2 separate regions of the Homo sapiens genome follow, and region 2 is linked to region 1. Evidence: promoter capture Hi-C in 16 types of primary human blood cells and fetal thymus (Javierre and others, 2016). All regions are on one chromosome and are shown on one strand. Each heading gives the region's core, a stretch centred on a gene start or on the middle of the fragment in contact. The rest is flanking DNA. Distances are from core to core; before and after follow the strand shown.

Region 1 (5,187 bases), core at 999-3,498:
CAAGAGCAGGGTGTTTTGTCTATCATGGTCTCCACGCCTAGCATTATGCCTGAAACATAGAAGGCTCTCAAAATGAAATAAACACAGGCCTCATTCATTAAGGCATGAATGGAAACAACAGGAAAGGAGTGTGGCACCAAGAGTGAAGATGCTATAAAATGCCTAGGACTGCAAGATAGGTAAAATGAAAATCCTATGAACCTGTGGCCTGCCTCGAGATCCCCCTACACTGTTTTCAAAAAGGAGAGAGAGTACGTGTTCTTGGGGAGAGATGCAGCACCATTTGAGATGAAAAAAGGAGGAAAGCTATACATTAAAAAAGAGCTTTGCCACTCTGACCCCACATTCTTAACTCTACAGGTAAAACCAGAGGAAAAGACTGTCCAGAGAAGCAGACGTAAGAATCTCACTGAAGTGGTCTCTGCTTTGAGTATGTCTTCATTTTATAGGATCCCTTATCATTCTGACCCTAGGGGTTCTTAAATGTTGCTTATAAAGACAAACAGTCTGAGATAATGGCCAACAGAATGTGCCATGTGGCTTTGCATGATAAGCATTATACTTGCGGCATGATGAATAAACAGAAAACACTCTTTAACAAGTTCTAGGCCCAACTATCAACAACCATCCGTAGGAGGCTGAGGTAGGAGGACCACCTGAGCCCAGGAGGTGGAGGCTGCAGCTAGCAAGATCATGTCACTATTCTCTAACCTGGGCAACAGAGCAAGACTCTGCCTCACCAACAAAAAATAAAAAAATAAATTAAAACACTATCTCTTGCACCATTGCACTCCAGCCTGGGTAACAAGAGTGAAACTCCATCTCAAAAAAAAAAAAAAAAAGAAAGAAAGAAAGAAAATTATCACATCATCTTGTATTGTTACAGGGAAACTTAGATAAAAAAAGAAAATGCTCACAGACAGCTGCAGGAAAGTTCTAAGCAAATTTTCTTCTTACTTTCATATATTCCCCTGAAGTTCAATGTGCATTATAAATGTGCTATGCTACTGTACAAAGTATTATGGTCACTTCCTTTAATAAGTTTCATGTGGCCAGGAGTTCAAGATCAGACTGGTAGGTAACAAGACCTCATCTCTACAAAATAAATAAATAAATAAATAAATAAGAATTTTTTTAAAATAAGCTTCAGCTAAGTTTATCAAAAGCAAGTCAAGTGTTGCTAAATTCGACTGGCTTAAAAAAAAAAAAAGCAAAGTGAAAAGGCTACAATTATTCCAAGTTTTGTGGTGCTGTTAAATAGCTATTTAAAATGTCTTCAAACGCCTGCAAGTGTAAGATTCTTGAAGGAAAGAGGGCACTTTACACTAAAATTGGCTGGCAAGTACATCAATGAATGTTTCCAAAACAGTTAGTGTAGCACAATAAGGCAAAAGACCCCAGGACTTCAAACGAACAAAATTGCTCCTTCTCAAATCTGGCAAGAAATGCAAAACAACTGCAGATTCTGGCCAAGGAACAAAAACAGTTCACATCTATAAGTTATTGGCGACGGACGCAGATCTCATTCTGGCAGGTCCCACGCTAAAAGTGAAACCATATCATCCAATTTCCAGCCAACAGATCACAGTGTTAAAAGAAAACAGTAACCAATACGCATCAACCCGAATTCATTTTAGGAAAAATTGAAATCTATTTTAAAAAGCACGTCGTTCTGCAATCAGGGTCCTGCAAAGTGCTGCTTCTCAACTCACTGAGGATCAAGCTTGGTCTAAATCCATGGTAGGATACCTCCCCCATTTCCTTCTGCACTTGGCACAAGGATCTAAAGCTCTTCAAAGAAGGTTCAAGACCGCTGAACAGAGCCCGCCGCCACCCCCGCGGAAGCGATACCTTGCCAAGAAGACCACTGAGGGCAACTCGGGGCGCTCGCGAATAGGGGAAGGGATAGGACACCAGAGGGTAAACTGAGTCACGGTAGAGGCGGAAGCTCAATGTGACAGGGGCACAGGGTCGCCTTGTGCCCCAAACCCTCTCTTTGTCCACGAGGCCTCCTCACGCCACCCCTGGGTACCTGTCACCGGCAGCGCACCCGCGGCACACGCACCGCTCGCGTCTCCCTTGCAGCCCATGCCCGGGCCGTGGTCAGTCCGCCACAGTGCCAGAGACAACGCCAGGGCAGGGCGGGGCGAGGCGGCAGCGGCAGTGCAGGCTGCGCCAGTGAGAGGCCGACACGCGCCTTTCCCGCGGCTCGACTCAACACCCAGCCTCGCAAAGCAATTGCCCAGCTGCCGGCCGCCCTTTTACTTCCGCTTCCTGCAGGCGAACGCTGGAGGACTTCCGGATACCGAGTCGAGACCTAGCAGCCCAGAGCGTCGCGCGGTCGCCCTCTCATCTCCGAGGGTTGGGGAGGGGGGAGTCCTGCCTCTCTCCTCACTTCCGCCTTTCAGGGTGGCGGGTAGGCTGCCGGTCTTCAAGGTCTTGGGAAGGTTCGTTGGGCCAACAGCTGAGACCCGAAAGCTTCAACAGTCAGTCGGTGAAATCCAGTTTGGACTCTGGGACTTACTCCCTTAAACCTTTGTTAAAAGCTTACTCCCTTTAGCCTTTCGGTGGCACAGTAAGGACAATTGTCTTAATGTTTCTGAGCATCTTAGACTTTATACTAAACCCTAAAATTTTGATAGCTACCTTCCAGGAGGCATGATGAAAGGAAGACTTTTTAAATTTTATGAGCCGCTTGAGCTTTCTTATTCGGACAGCGGCAGCTTAGTCTACAGGGACTACTTTGTCCTTTTAGTATTTTTTTTTTAACTAATATAAACCAGTTTAAAATTGTTTTGGAATAGGTAGCATTTAACCCACCCAAAAATGAATACCTCTTTGGAGGGTATATTTTTAAGTATATTAAGTCAAAGTGAATGAAAAGCCAAAAATATTTTTTTGGAGTTGGAGTCTCGCTCTGTCTCCCAGGCTGGAATGCAGTGGCGCGATCTCGGCTCACTGCAACCTCCGCGCCCCCGCCCGCGCCCCCCACCCCCCAACCCCCCGACCCGCATTCAAGCGATTCTCCCACCTCAGCCTCCCCAGTAGCTGGGATTACAGGCGTGCGCCACCGCGCCTGGCTAATTTTTGTATTTTTAGTAGAGACAGGGTTTCACCCTGTTGGCCAGGCTGGTCTCGAACTGCTGACCTCAGATGATCCACCCGCCTCGGCCTCCCAAGTGCTGGGATTACAGGCGTGACCCACTGCGCCCGGCCCAAAATAATTTTAATAAATAAACATGAGCCAACATGATGAAGGGGAGGAAGGAGAGGAGGATGAAGGAGATGACTAATGGAACACTGATGGAGGCCGGGCGCGGTGGCTCACGCTGAGGATGGAGGCTGAGGCAGGAGAATGGCGTGAACCCGGGAGGCGGAGGTTGCTTGCAGTGAGCAGAGATCGCATCACTGCACTCCAGCCTGGGCGAGAGAGGGAGACTCCATCTCAAAAAAAAAAAAAACAGCAACAACAACAGCAAAAAAACACTGATGGATTCCAACCTTCCTTTTTTTACATTTTCTCCAGTCCCTGGGAGCAAGTTGCAGTTTTTTTGTTTTTTTGTTTTTTGTTTTTTCTCTCTTGTGCTCAGTCGCCCTGTTCTTGAGGTTTCTTTTCTCTACACTATAGTTCTCAACTTATTTTGGGGGAAATAACTTCAGCAGAATACAATGGGAAAAGAGTCTCTACCCCTTTCTGTTCGAAATTCATTTTTATCCCTTCCTGTCTGAGCAAAAACTGTATAGAATCAACATCACCCCAGCTCTGTGGGAAAAAAGAAAAACCTGCTCCCTTCGCCCTGCTGGAAGCTGGAGGGCTCTAGGCCCATGTGTAGCAGAGCATTCAATTCTAGCTTTCTTCCTGCTTTCTCTGTATATTGGGCTCGGAGAGTACACTGGGTCTCTATGTGAATATGGACAGTTAGCATTTACCAACATCTTTCTGTCTACTTTCTCTTGTTTAAAAAAAGAAAAAAACTTTAAAAAATGGGATTCTAGAAGTCAGCAAAGGGTGGGTCTGAGATGTTTGGGTGGGTTAAGCGGACATTTTGACAACATGGCTTCTCCTTTGGCATGTTTAATTGCGATGTTTGACACACATCCTTGCAGTTTAAGATGACGCTTTTAAAATAAATTCTCTCCTAATGATGACTTGAGCCCTGCCACTCAGTGGGAGAATCAGCAGAACCTCTAGGATCTTATTTGGAATTGACATTCTCTATTGTAATTTTGTTCCTGTTTATTTTTAAATTTTGTTTCACTGGAAAGGAAAGATCATGCTCAGTTTTAAATGTTAAAAGTGTACAAGTTGCTTTGTTACAATAAAACTAAATGTGTACACACACCTACGAAAAGAAAAAAACATGAGCATTTTAAAATTTATTTCACAAGGGAGCTGTTGTGTTAGCTTTCCATAGTGTATTTTCTAGCCCTCTTTAAATCACATCAGCTAATGCTTCAATAAAAAGGAAATTGTTAATTCACCTCATTACAAAGTTGATTATATACTTTTTCTTGGCCTTATCTTGATCTTCTGCTATGTGATCCATGAACAAAACCAAAGTTTGCTTAGTTTTAAAATACAGCTAAGTGGTAGCACAGAGCTTCTAGGAAAGTTGGATTTCACCTTTTCTAAACCTTTCTCTGAAAAGTGCTACCTTATTTGAATAAAAACAGATTTTAAAAAATTTTTTAAACTTTTTATTTAGAAATAATTATAAATTCACAAGAAGTTGCAAAGATAGTACACAGAGGTACTTTGTACCCTTAAGCCCATTCCCCCAATGATTACATTTCAAATATCTATATTAAAGTATGAAAACCAGAAATTGACTTGGTACATTGTGTGGGGGAGACAGGTATATTTCCATCATTTTGTGTATGTCTGTACATTTGTGTAACCACTGCCAAAATGAAGACCCACAACTATTGCAGCACCACAAAGATCTCCCTTGTGCTACCCCTTTATGAAGTCAGAACTACTTTCCTACCCCCAAAACCCCTAGCCTGTGGCAACCATCATTTTGATCATTAAATATAAAATTTTTCAATTCTAGAATGTTATATGAATAGTATCACATAGTATGTAGCTTTTTTATTTATTTATTCACTCAGCATAACCACCTGTGGAGCCATACAAGTTGTAGATATCAGTAGTTTGTTCCTTTTTATTACTGAGTAATATTCCAT
Region 2 (5,187 bases), core at 892-3,391, about 10 Mb after region 1:
AAAAATACCAAAACAAGGAAAATAATGAGAGTCCAGAGATAAATGAAATGTTTAAGAAATCTGATATAAAAGTGAAAACATTGAGCATTAATAAAAACTGAGTGTGAAGTCAATAATAAAAAAAAAACCTGTTAATCTCACTCCAACAAGACACAGAAGAGTCAGATACAGCCACAGAATGTTAGGCTGAGCCTACGTATCAAGTAATACAGTGGTGGTTCAGCAGAAGGCATCAAAATCACCTGGGGGTTCCCCATACTCCACATGCCCAGGGTGTAAACCAATCACTCTTGACCTTGGCATTGCTGACATCTGGGCTGAATAATTCTTTGCTGTGAAACACTATCCTGTGCCTTATAAGATATTATGCAGTGTTTCTGACCTCTACTCACCAGATCCCAGCAGACTGCTCCTAGCTCTGAGAACCAAAAATGTCTCCTAGGCTTAGGATGACCAATCTTCTCAGTAGGCTAGGGACAGAGGAGATTCTTGGGATTCAGAACTTTCAGTGCTAAAACTGTTAAAGTTCTGGGCAAACCAGGAAGAGTTACTCTTCTTACTCGGGGGGCGAATTTCCCTGCTCGAGAGCTACTACCAAAACGTTTGCAATTTGGATTAAGCAGGTCTAGGGTTGGGCCTCAACATTTTAACAAACCAACCAACCCAAACCAAATAAACAACTCAAGTAACTCCTAGACATATCTGGTTAGGAGCAGTGAATTCTAGCCTAAACTCAACTTTATAAAGGAACAAAGGCCAAAGGAGGTTAACCTCGTACAGGGCCAATCATTTTCCTATTACAACATAGAATGAGACTCAGAAAAGGACAAACCAAGGAATCCTAGAAGCTGCTAGTGTGCATATAAAATATTTGGTGTCAGGAATGAACAAAAGGAAAAAAACAGGGAACAAAAAGAACTAAAACACCACAAAATAGAAGATAAAGAGAAAAAGCAGCAGAAAGATATAAAAAAAGTTTCTTGTTGATAGTTACTTTTTTCAGGTAAACTGAAAGTCACAACTGAACCTTCAAACCTATAATCCTCTAAGAGAGGCACATTTTAAAGAAGTTACCTCTAGAAAACTTCCTGGACGTTACCTGTCAGTCCCAGGGGCAGACTGGGCACCTCACTCTCATCTTCATCATTATCTGGCTTCTCCACATTATTTTCTGTTTCTTTAGTAGTCTCGGCACTTTCTTCTTCAGATTTCCCTTTGTTTTCAGTTTTTGCTTTTTTCGTATCTTTGGTTTTAAAAGACAAAATCCGAAAAAATTTTTCCTTAAAATAGAATTCCAAATGAGATCAACAAACAGAAGATCTCTGATATAAAGACGTATATTTTCAAAAGCTAAGTATATGCTGTATTAATTTGTTAAGAATTCTGTTTGGTGAAAAATGAGTGGTTGTATTTAAAAACCCAGGGTACAGACAGACTTGGTGACAAAACCTTTTAGGCTTTTGTTCAACTAAACAGTATAAACATACCAATTATAAGTTTCACATACTCCACTGAGGGGAAAGGAAGCATACCTGATTAACATAATCCTTAAAAACTCATTATAAGTAGTCATTTTTCTTCCCACGCCAATCACTATCAAAGGCTCTTCATGTTACTAGAGATAGACTGTAAAGGAAGGGCAACAACCCACTTGCCTGGCTGACATACACTGGACTGTGCCTTGGCTATCAGGGATGAGGGTGGGAGGAAAGGCAGGGCTTCTTCCCACCCTCATTTCTACATTCACAACTTTCATGTGGCCCCAACTACCTTTTCAGTCCTACCTCTCACTTCTCTTTTCAATGTTCGACTCTGGGTCAAATGGATTAACCACATGCTGTGTTTATATAAAACTATATGGCAATTAGTGATGTTTGAAAAGAACTTAGACCACAACCCAGGACTCTCTGTAGCTCAGTACTGGTCTCCTCCCTGTACCTGACGGCCACCCTTCCAGGAAAGAGTCAACTTTGTAGGACCTACATGTTCAAAAGCCACAGATATCTTCAGCTGGTCTCCATGGCTTATTTTGTTTTCCCTGGAATAGTTCCTAAAATGTACCCATAAGGTGGTTGGGTGTGGTGGCTTCTGCCTGTAATCCCAGCACTTTGGGAAGCCGAGGTGGGAGGATCACTTGAGCCCAGGAGTTCAAGACCAGCTTGGACAACACAGTGAGACCCCATCTCATAATAAAACAAACAAACAAACAAACAAACAAAAAACCCATAAGGTTAAAACGCCCAGCATTGTGATTCAATGCTTGGGAGCAGAAATAATACCACTTCCTGGGGCATACTCAAAACAAGAATTGTGAAGGCAATAATTTTAGAACAGGATTACAATGACTTCTGTGTGTAGGCATCATGAAGACAGTAATGCATGTTTGGAAAAGTTCAAAGTCCCTTTCTAAATAAAACCCTTATTTCAGGTAAAATACATGAATAGGATGTTCCAACTCAGGGGCTGGCAAACTTTCCGCAAAGGGCCAGATAGTAAATAGTTTAGGCTTTGCAGGTCATATGATCTCTGTTGCCATAAACACAACCAAATAGGCATTGCTATGACCCAGTAAAACTTTATTTACAAAAACAGGTAGAAGGAGGGATAGTTTGCTGACCCCTATCTTATCCTACCTTGATATCTCTGCTTATACAAATCTCAATTATAATGTCCATTCTTTCATCCGAGCTTACTGAAATTCCATCATCTTCAAAAAACATTCCTTCCTTTTCCTCCTGCCATTCTTAGCACTTGGAAATTAATGTTCCATTTATTCAGAAGTTTCCTACTTTATATACTTTGTAACTAATATTCCTTTCAAAGGGAGGAATTTATGGAAGGAAAATGGGAAGAATCAAGCAGGAAAAAAGGTAACTTAAAAAGAAGAGAAAATTTCTAGAATTCTAAGGAGAGTCTTTTCTGAGAGAGGTTTTCTTCAAGGTTAGTGAAATTAAAAATATATTCCTCAATATTTTGAGAAAAGTTGAAATGGACTCCCCGCTTCTGCCAATAAAATGTTTCCATTAGCTACCAGGCTAATCTCTAACATACTGGTGAGTACAGGGAATTCTCATGTCATGTGCACACAATAGTAATAGAAAGAGGAACAATAACCGTCTGTGAAAAACTAAATGGCTGAAGTTCAAAGATAATAAATACCTACCAGGCTCAGCATCATTCACCATTTTTCTCTTTTTCTTCTTTTTCTTTTTTGATTCTGAATTGGAAGACTGCATTGCTGCTTCTCCATTGGTTAATACAGTGGATTTCTGGGGAGACTTTGTAACTTTTATATTTCCCACTGCTTCTTGAGACATGCCTCCATTTTGAGTTTCTGATAAGCCCACATTCATGGGCTTTTGTTTTGATTTTTTAACCTTTCTACTTCCCATTGTTTCTTCAGATACATCTCCATTTTGAGTTTCCGATAGGGTCAGATTTGAGGCCCCTGTTTAAATAAACAGAACATATACTGTGACAAAGAAGGAGAAGTTTACTTAGAAACACTGAAATCCCAAATGAGAACTTCCATGGCTTCCTGACACAAATTATTTAGATTTTCTTCTCTTTCATGTAATTAAAACAACTTATAGTTTTATGGTGTTCCCTTATAGGGAAAGTAAGTTATCTTAAAGAAAAAATACTGGAAAAGGGAAAGCTATATTGATTTCTTAACTGCAAAAGACCGTACATCTGACTTTAAGGAGTCTAGGACAGGAAAACTTCAATGAGGTCAAATATTTAAACAGATGAGGTCAGATAATGGCAGTTACAGAATAAACATAAGTATTTGATAAACATATGATTAACTGATATATTGAAAAAGACATTTACAACTCATTCACACAAGTACTATTTTTCATACCACTTCAAAACATTCAACCCCAACTCTTCTAGACTGCAGTGAGTTGAAAATTCAGTTGATAAGACCACTTATTTGCTCCAATATTTATCATATGCAAATACAGTAATGCGTGCACAATGACATTTCTGTGAATTAAGGACAACATATACAGTGGCTCCATAAGATTATAACGGAGCTAAAAAATTCCTATCACCTAGTGCCATCAGTAACTGCAATGTCGTAGTGCAACATATTACTCATGTTTGTAGTGATGCTAGTATAAACAAATCTACTGTAATGCCAGTCGTATAAAGTACAGCACACATAATTATGTACAATACATAATACGTGATAATAAACTATGTTACTTGTTTATGTGTTTACTATACTTTTGATCATCATTTTAGAGTTTACTCCTTTTACTTATTAAAAAAAAATGAGTCGACTGTAAAAGAGCCTCAGGGAGAGAGGTATTTTAGAAGGCACTGTTATCATAGGAGATGACAGCTCCATGCCTATTGTTGCCCCTGAAGATCTTCCAGTGGGACAAGATGTGGAAGCGGAAGACAGTGAAACTGAATGTGTCTGTGTCTTTACATTTTTAACAAAAAGCTTAAAAAGAAAAAAAAATAAAATAAAAATCACATAGAATAAGGACAAAAGGAAACTTTTTGTACAGCTGTATGTACAATGTGCTTGTGTTGTAAGCTAAGTGTTATTAAAGTCAAAAGGTTAAAATTTAACAAGTTTATAATGTAAAAGTTACAGCAGGCTAAGGTTAATTTAAGAATAAAAGTATTAAAAAACTCAACAGTGTAGCCCAAGTGTACAGTGTTTATAAAGTCTATAGTGTACAGTAATGTTCTAGGCCTTCACATTCACTCACCGCTCACTGACTCGCTCAGGGTAACTTCCAGTCCTGCAAACTCCATTCATGGTAAGTACTGTATACAGAGGTACCATTTTCTAAATCTCTCATGTCATAGTCTTTTTACTGTACCTTTTCTATGTTTAGATATATTTAGCCATACATACACTTACCATTGTGTTACAATTCTCTGAGTATAGTACAGTAACATGCTGTACAGGATGACAGCTTACGAGCAACAGGCTATATCATGTAGCCTGGGTGTGTAGTAGATTTAGGTTTGTGTAACTAGATAAAGTTCGCAAAACGACAAAAGCCCCTAATGACACATTTCTCACAATGTATCCCCCCTCCTGTTATGCGATGCATGACTGTACCTGAGAATGTCCTTACCAAAGGTTCCCTGTTTGTTTACTGAAAAAGATAAAACACCATCTTTTGTTCAAATTTACTTACATATGCGCTGAAAAGTAGT

Evidence for each region. Contacts are between HindIII fragments. The CHiCAGO score rates a contact against its expected background, and 5 or more counts as called.
Region 2: a contact is called between a fragment that was not itself captured here and the fragment with the promoter of UGGT1 in region 1, in 1 of 17 cell types (non-activated CD4 T cells). The highest score is 7.4, in non-activated CD4 T cells.

What each region holds. Positions count from the first base shown.
Region 1 is chr2:128,088,261-128,093,447 of GRCh38, reverse strand. It overlaps UGGT1 (UDP-glucose glycoprotein glucosyltransferase 1), which reads right to left and starts at 2,248. Exons shown (of 41, transcript NM_020120.4): 1 at 2,033-2,248. The coding sequence starts at 2,090. RefSeq lists an enhancer at 2,177-2,486. The HindIII fragment of the contact is 755 bases long and covers 1,726-2,480 here.
Region 2 is chr2:117,815,705-117,820,891 of GRCh38, reverse strand. It overlaps DDX18 (DEAD-box helicase 18), which reads right to left. Exons shown (of 14, transcript NM_006773.4): 2 at 3,164-3,448; 3 at 1,100-1,243. Among named protein-coding and RNA genes, the nearest start is that of DDX18, 3.6 kb to the right of the region's middle. RefSeq lists silencers at 179-248, 259-308. The HindIII fragment of the contact is 4,634 bases long and covers 1-4,458 here.